Regions from separate parts of the Homo sapiens genome. Here all the other regions are linked to region 1. Evidence: promoter capture Hi-C in human tissues and cell types (Jung and others, 2019). All regions are on one chromosome and are shown on one strand. Each heading gives the region's core, a stretch centred on a gene start or on the middle of the fragment in contact. The rest is flanking DNA. Distances are from core to core; before and after follow the strand shown. Region 1 holds the start of FAM114A1 (family with sequence similarity 114 member A1). Region 2 has its middle 68 kb from the start of LINC02513. Region 3 has its middle 46 kb from the start of LINC02513.

What was found. The method cuts DNA at HindIII sites, captures the fragments that hold promoters and counts their contacts. A contact is called where the count stands out against the background at its distance.
Region 2: a fragment that was not itself captured here is called in contact with the fragment with the promoter of FAM114A1 in region 1 in 1 of the 25 tissues and cell types used here (mesendoderm cells).
Region 3: a contact is called between a fragment that was not itself captured here and the fragment with the promoter of FAM114A1 in region 1, in 1 of the 25 tissues and cell types used here (lymphoblastoid cells).

The regions. Positions count from the first base shown.
Region 1 is chr4:38,866,502-38,869,106 of GRCh38, reverse strand. It overlaps FAM114A1 (family with sequence similarity 114 member A1), which reads right to left and starts at 1,301. Exons shown (of 15, transcript NM_138389.4): 1 at 1,273-1,301; 2 at 561-709. MIR574 (microRNA 574) reads right to left here and starts at 1,075; the gene lies at 980-1,075. It also overlaps a transcript of TLR6 not described here. RefSeq lists an enhancer at 167-750 and silencers at 958-1,007, 1,058-1,537. The HindIII fragment of the contact is 6,667 bases long and covers 907-2,605 here.
Region 2 is chr4:38,297,454-38,300,058 of GRCh38, reverse strand. No RefSeq gene overlaps it. Among named protein-coding and RNA genes, the nearest start is that of LINC02513, 68 kb to the left of the region's middle. The HindIII fragment of the contact is 4,324 bases long and covers 1-2,605 here.
Region 3 is chr4:38,319,659-38,322,263 of GRCh38, reverse strand. No RefSeq gene overlaps it. Among named protein-coding and RNA genes, the nearest start is that of LINC02513, 46 kb to the left of the region's middle. The HindIII fragment of the contact is 3,401 bases long and covers 1-2,605 here.

The DNA.
Region 1 (2,605 bases), core at 52-2,551:
TACATTGTGTTTGATATTAATAAAAGAGAAACCATGTTTGATGTAAGCCTGGTCAAATAAACAAAGACAAGTTTACTTTTATGGTCTGAATCGCTCAGATTCAAGAAAGCCCCCTCCAACCCTCAAATTCCTTCTGCACTGTCTCACTTGTGCCTCAAATCCATCCCTAACGTCTCATTCCTTCACTTAAAGGTTACAATGTAAGAAGTTTATCAGATTCTTTCCCAAGCTCAGGCTTGATGGAAGAAAGGAGGGCGGGGACGCAGGCCTATGGGTGGGGTAGGGAAGGAGCCACTAGGCTGCAGAGAGGGCAAAAAGAGGCTCTGAGGATAGAGCCTGTCTCATTCTCAGTTGTCACAGGTTGGCTGAGGTCACAGGGAGTTCAGAGCACACTGATTTAAGAAGCCACCTGCCTGTGTCCTTCAAGATGTTTAGGATGGGAAATGATGGGATCAGTAGGGCATAGGTAATGCTCTCACAGCCCATAGAGAGATGTCTTCCTACTTAAGAAAAGGCAGTGACGTTCAGGCGCCTGGTCTGAGGTGCCTGGAAATACTCACCGGATGGCAGAGGCGAGGGCTAGCCGACTGGGTGGAGGGGGCCTGGGGATCTGCGGTAGGGAGTGGGACCCATCCCGGGGGCTGCGAGTGGAGGCGGTGCCTGCTTAGAGTGTTGGCTGGACTGGAAGAGCAGGCAGGGCGTGGGTCGGCTGTTGGGGGAGGAGTAAGGCGAGGGGAGCGGGGAGGTCAAGGCCTGAGCTCCCTGTGCCAAGGCCGAGGGCAGGCGCACCCTGGGACGAGGCCTCTGTCTTACAGGGACCTGCTCCCTTCGTGCCCGGGCTGGGGGACCCTGCAGCCCACCTCTGACTTGGCCCCGAGCCATTGGGGGCACTTTTCCAGACTTGCTTGGTGCCAGGACTGGATACTTTGGGAGATCCAGGCAGGCTCCGCGGAGGTTCACGCAGGCCGAGGGGGCAGACCCTGAGTGTGGGCGTGTGGGTGTGTGCATGAGCGTGGACCCGGAGCGACACACACTCACACACACACACTCACACGCCCGCACCCACGCAGGTCCCTCGGCCGCGCCGCCCCAGACCCTCACCCCAGAGCCGGGTCCTCCCTGACCACTGCTTCTCACTAACGCAGAGGGCAGGATTCGTGGGTCCCGGACGAGGCGCCAAGGTATGGTGTTCCCACCACCCCCGGGCAGCCGCCCCCGCGCTCGCCCGCCCCCCGGGGAAGGGGATGGGGACCGAGTGCCCGGGGCTCTTACCGCTCAGGCGGCCGAGTACGCGCGGGAGTGCCCAGCGGGTCCCGCCCCGCCACGTCTGCAGGGCCGGCGGGGACGCGGCCGGAGGGCGGGCGGCTGGAGAGGGGGCCCCGCCCCGCCTGCGCCCCGCCCCACGAGGAGCGCCGCGGGGACGCCCGGCCACCCCCACGCTGCGAGGGCCGGGCCCGCGCTGGGCGAGTCTCCTGGAAACTTGGCTTGTCCCACCCCTGTGCCAGCGCGGAAAGCCAGAGCGCGCCGCCTCTCCAGCCCAGGGCGGGTGGGTCTCGGGGTTCGCCAGATCCCTTTCCTTTCCTTAAAAGGGCTTGGAAAACCCCCCGCCGTGTCACTGGGAAGAGGTCGCTCAAATTCAGCTAAAGTTTGATCTCCTGATTCTGCGTTAAGCAGCACTCCCTTGCCCTGTCGGTGGGAGTGTGATAGATTTAAAACAAACAAACCCCAAACAAACAACGAAAACCCACTTTCCAGAAGGCCAGTTTGGAGCTGTGGGTTAAAACTCCGATGTATTAGCTTTGGCCTAGGAATTCCACATTTGTGAATTTGTCCTAAGTAGGCAGTCAAATGGGCAAATATGTATGTACAAGGATGTTTGTTGTAGTTGTTTCTGCGGGGGGAAGCCGGAGACAATCTCAATGTCCCCCAGTAAGATTGGTGAAGTAAGCTACAGTAACTTCAGACATCGAATATGTTGTAGCCCTTAAAAATGAGGATTCGTTGACATGGAGGGAAGGCCACATATGAAGGCCTTCCTCAAATATGGCTTAATATGAACTCAGATGCGGAGGAAGCGCAGTGTTTATAGTATTAACTAGTTTTGTAAACAATTTTGTATTTTCTATAAAAGTCGGAGGAAATACAATTTAAAAATAGTGATTCTTTCTGAGCGATGTGTTTAAGGCAGATTTTCTCCTCTCTCACTCCATCCCTTCTTCTTTTTGAAGAATTATAAATTCAAAGTTAAAGAAAAAATAGCCCTAGTCTCTCCCTTTCAATATCACTACCATTTTTTATAGTGTGTGGATCCTACCATAGTTTTTCTAAGCTTATATAAATACATGTATGCATAAACAGCTTTTTGTTTGCTTTTTTATAAAAATGGCGAGATGTTGACGTATTTTGTAAATTTCCCCCTATTTATTATATATTATAATCATCTTTCTTGGTCAATACATATCAACCAAAACCACTCTTCTAAGACTTGTCTTATATATTGCAATATGTTTGTAATTATATTTCATTCAATCATTCTCCTATTGACAATTAGTTTGCTCCTTATATTCCAGTTTCTTCCATATATATATTAATTAATTTATTAATT
Region 2 (2,605 bases), core at 28-2,527, 570 kb after region 1:
ATGCTTGCATAAAATATCTTATAGTCACAACAGTCTTTTTAAAGTTGATAACAACTTAACTTTTACTGCATACAAGAACTCTCTACACTCTAACTTCTCTTCCTACACTTTGTTTTTGAAGTCACAATTTACATCTTTGATATTTATGTATTCATCAATACATTATTGCAGCTTTTGTTATTTTTAATACTTTTGCTTTTTAACTTTTATACTAGAGTTAAAAGTGATTTACATACCACCTATATGATATTAGAATATTCTGGATTTGACTTTTTTTTTGTTTTTTTACCTTTACAGTGTTTTATTCTTTCATATTTTTCCTGGTGATAGTCTCCTTTTATTTTAACTTGAAGAATTCTCTGTAGCTTTTCCTGTAAAGTAGGTGTAGTAATAATAAACTCCTTCAGGTGTTTTTGTTGTTGTTGTTGTTGTTGGTATAGGAAAGTCTTTATCTCTTTTTTATTGCTGAAGGATAGCTTTGCTAGATATAGTATTCTTGATTGACAGCTTTTTTGTTCTTTTAGGACTTTGAGTATATATCCCCCTTTCTCCTGGCTTGCAAGGTTTCTGCTGATAGTTGTGTGTGGCTTCTTTTGTATGTAACAAGTTGCTTTTCTCCTGGTGCTTTCAAAATTCTCTCCTTGTCTTTGACTTTTGAGAATTTAATTATAATGTGTCTTGGTGAAGATCTCTTTCTGCTTAATTTACTTGGGGTTCTTTGGGCTTCATGGATTTGTAGGTTCGTTTTCTTCTCCAGATTTGAGAAGTTTTCTATCATTACTTCTTTAAATAAGCTTTCTTCCCCTTTCTCTTTCTCTGCTTCTTTTTTTGACTACCATAATGTGTTTATTGATTTACTTGGCAGTGTCCCATAAGTCCTATAGACTTTCTTCACACATCTTTATTCTTTTTCTTTTTGTTCCTTTGACTACATAATTTCTAATGAACTCCTTTACAGGTCACTAATTCTTTCTTCTGCTTAACTGAGTCTGCTGTTGAAGCTGTCTATGAAATTTGTTAATTCAGTCATTGTATTCTTCAGTTCCAGGATTTTTGTTTGGTACTTTAAAAAATGATTTCTATCTTTTTGTTGAACTTTTCATTATGTACATATATTGTTTTTCTGATTTTGTTTACCTATTTATTTGTGTTCCCTTATAGCTCACTAAGCTTTTAAAAAATAAATATTTTGCAATCTTTGTCAGGCAGTTTGTAGTTCTACATCACTGGTGCTTTACTTTGTTCCTTTAGTGGTGTCATGTTTCCCTGATAATCCATGATCCTTATGGCCTTGTATTGGTGTCTATGTATTTGAAGAAATAGGCATCTCTTCCAATACTTACAGACTGACTTTGGCATAAAAAACTCTTCACCAGTTAACCTGTCCAGAAATTCTTGGTAGGCCAGCTGGTGGGGTCTATGGGAGTGCTTGCTGTTGGAGTCCTCAGGTGGGCTGTCCTGGTGCCTGGGTCCACAGGAGCCAACCTGGCACTGGGACCTACTAGAATGGGCCTAGTGACTAGACCCATGAGGGTGGCCCTGAGGGTCTGCAGAAGACAACTTAGTGCTGAGGTAGGCCTAGTGCCTGGGTCCTTAGGGGTAAACCTGGTTTTGAGTCTGTAAGAAATGGCATGGTTGCAAAGTCTACTAGGGCAAGCCTGGGCTCTGGGTCTGCTGAAATCTGCATCAGGGGGCTGGCCTGATGCTAGGGTTGTCCTAGAGCCTGGGTCTTCAGGGTGAGCCTAGAGCCAGGGGTTGCAGGAGCTGACCTGGTATTAGAGTCCACTGAGACAGGCCTGGTGCTAGAGTCCATGGAAAAATTGGGTGCTTATTCATGCTTATTCCTCCACGTGGAGGGAATCTCTCTCTGCACTGTGCTGCATGGGCTTAGAGAAGGGGTGGTGCAGTTTATGTGAAAATGTCCTTCCTACCCTCTTCAATGCATTTTTCTTATTTCTGTGCTTCAGCCGTGTGCTGTAGTCTCTCAGCTGGGTTTCTTAGATCTTGTGAAGATATTTTCATGCATGATTGGTTGCTCAAATTGATGTTTATGTGAGGGAATGAGTGCTGGATATTTCTATTCCACAATCTTACTCTAAACAACAAATATTTACCTAGCATTAGATTCAGTCACTTACTTAATGATTGTTTAAGGATCACCAATAACTTTGCAAAATGCATGAGAGCTATGCTTTGAAAAGAGAGATTATCATGGCAACGCTATTTTTGAAGTCTAAGAAAAATAGTATCTGATTTTGGCAATCAGACATTTCTGAAATTATTGTTATTCTCATTGGACTCTACATATATCAGCATAGTGAGCATATGTATGTGTGTGAATTTCTGCAATACAGAATTCTAATTAAAGGCAAATGTGAAAATAATAGGAAATATATATACTGGTCTTTGCACCCACTTCCTGATGTAGAGCACTTAAAGTCTTTTTAGATAGGAATGCTAGGAGAATCTTTTGTTAAATATTTTGTCTTTGACCCTGGCTTCTGCCATAGAGCTCCTAAGAAATTTGTAATTCTCTGAGTGATAGAAGCATCTAGTGCAGAGTTCCTAAATCCCTTTTAGGAGCATCTTTTGATAGGAGCATCTT
Region 3 (2,605 bases), core at 49-2,548, 550 kb after region 1:
AGAGGGCTTCTTAAATCCCAGAATACCAGGCCTCATCTAGAATGCTCTTCCCTCTTCCACAGTTCCCTCTTTCTCCTGCTGAATTCCTCAGTCAAGCCTTCTCTATTTCATCCACCTCCACCTCCACCATCATCATCACCATTATCATCACCAACACATATTGAGTGATTACTGGCTCCATCCCACCGAATCCTCAAAAAAAAAAAAAAAAACCATGGCAATAGGGAACATGATTCTCCCTATAGCATATAGATAATAAAACTGGGGCTCAGCTAGGTCTAGAAACTTGCCCAGAGTCACATAGCTAGTAAATGGTGGAGCCAGGATTCAATCCTGGCAGGCTGACTCCAGTATTGAGGCTCCTAGCCCCTGAACCTACTGCCTCATCCAAGCAGAGCCTTCCTTCCTCAAAACACTCCTCCCTGTCATTTACATATGGAAACACACATACCCTAGAATGTGATGTCTCCCTTACCAGAGTGAGTTATTCAAGGGTGGGTCTTTCTTTCTTTCTTTCTTTTTGAGAATCTGGCTCTGTCGCCCAGGCTGGAGTGCAGTGGCATGATCTCAGCTCACTGCCACCTCCATCTCATGGGTTCAACCGATTCTCATGCCTCAGCCTCTGGAGTAACTGGGATTACAGGTGTGCGCCACCATACCCGGCTAATTTTTGTATTTTTGTAGAGACAGGGTTTCGGCTTGTTGGCCAGGCTGGTCTCAAACTCCTGATCTCAAGTGATGCTCCCCCACCTGCCCGCCACGGCCTCCCAAAGTGTTGGGATTACAGGCGTAAGCCACAATGCCCAGCCTCAAGGGCGGGTCTTTATCTTTATTTCCTATGCCTAGCACCTAGAGGGTACTAATCAATGTTAATTGTTAATTACTTGTGCTAGAGTGTTTGCAAATAAAAGGTAAATTTTCTGATGGGTTCTTGGGCCATACGAAGTGAGAACTGTACCAGAAGATTGTAAGTTCCTTATATAGATATCATTTTATATTGCAGATACATAGATACCTCTATGATGATATATACCAATGATACACAGGTATCATCTTATATTAGGGGAAATCCCGTGAGGGGTGGCGATCCAAAGATTATTGCCATCTCTCTTAGTGGGTCCACATCTTATCCATTTCCATCTCAGCTACTCTGAATACTTCTCTAACTTATTCAGAGTGAAGGGAGTTTTTACCCCAGAGCAGAATGAAAGCAGAGATGCCTAAATGGTAGTTTTACAGGAAGCTTTGGTTAACGTCTTTTCTACTGGTCTAGAAAAATACCCTAGGAAGTCACCATTTTAAACAAACAAACAAAAAAAATCACAGGAACAGGTGCATTAGAATACAAATCTCATGTGTATTTGGAACCAAGACCAACGTTTTCTGTACATAACCACCATCAAAAAAAGAATATCAGTTGTCTTCTATATCCAAATCCAAAGTGCAGGCAAACATCAGCTTTTGGTTCTTCTCTGTTTTCCTTTGAATGACACTATTGCCAGCCAGCCCTCGGGGTTCTCCACTGCTGCAGTTTTGAAACTTTTCTTTCCCAGGTTAAGAAACTAAAGTTGTAATGGAGAAAGAAATGGGAGAAAGCTACATCCCAGAGCAGAGGTGACCTGCCAGCACTCTAAAGTTATTCTAGACCTAGTACAGGCTCAAGCTTAGGACATTTGTTTCTTTTCCACCTGACTTCAAGGAGCTTGTCAAAGCGCAGCCTAAGTTAACAGGCTCTGTCAATGTGAGTACCAGAAGCCAGGCCGCCACCTGCGCTGTTCCAGAAGCCAGGGATACAATGAAAAAACACAAACGTTTCTCCCCATTTTGCTGTATACATTCCAATTCTTTCGCTAGGGACTGTACAAAATCCTGTCTTCTCTGGCAGGTTTCAGGTGGAGGTCCTGGGATGCTTGGACCCAGGACGGCCCATAGTGCGGGCCTCTGCGTCCTCTCCCCCTCACATAGGGGCAGAGGCCAGGAGGCCTGGATCCTTCCCCAGCAACCGTGTGGAGGTTTTTACTTCCTCTGATCCAGGGGACACATGTAATCTTTTTCTACAACTCCCTGAGGCTGGTTTTTCCCACCCTACAAATCAGTAAGCATAAATTTTTGCAGAGAAGCCTGGAGCCATGGGTCCTAAGCATTCAGGCAGCCAAAAAAATTAAATTTTCAACCGGAGCCGGGTAAGGACACATGGTCTCAAACGTTTCCTGCCCAATTGGAGCCGCTTTCCTCCTCTTGCACACTTGCTCCCCCTACTGCCTGACGCTGGAAGTGCAGGCCTGGCTCCGAGGCAAGCTTGAACGCCCCAGCTCGGTCCTGGGATGGCCAGGGTGAAAGCCAGCAGAGCAGAGAGGTTGCCAAAAAAAAAAAAAAAAAGCAATAGTACATCTTTCATAATTCTCCCACTGCTCTGGGGAAGGCACTAAGCTAAGTCTTTTCTTTACATTTGAAGAATAAACTCTGTAATAAAGATTGAATAAAAGTCTTCCCTGAATAAAGTTTTGCCAAATAAGTTAAAGTTAGGTCTCCCTTAAGGGTTCAATAAATGAAAAGAACTTCAGTTTTAGATTCAGACCTCGTGAAATCCCCAAGCCCCTTTGGA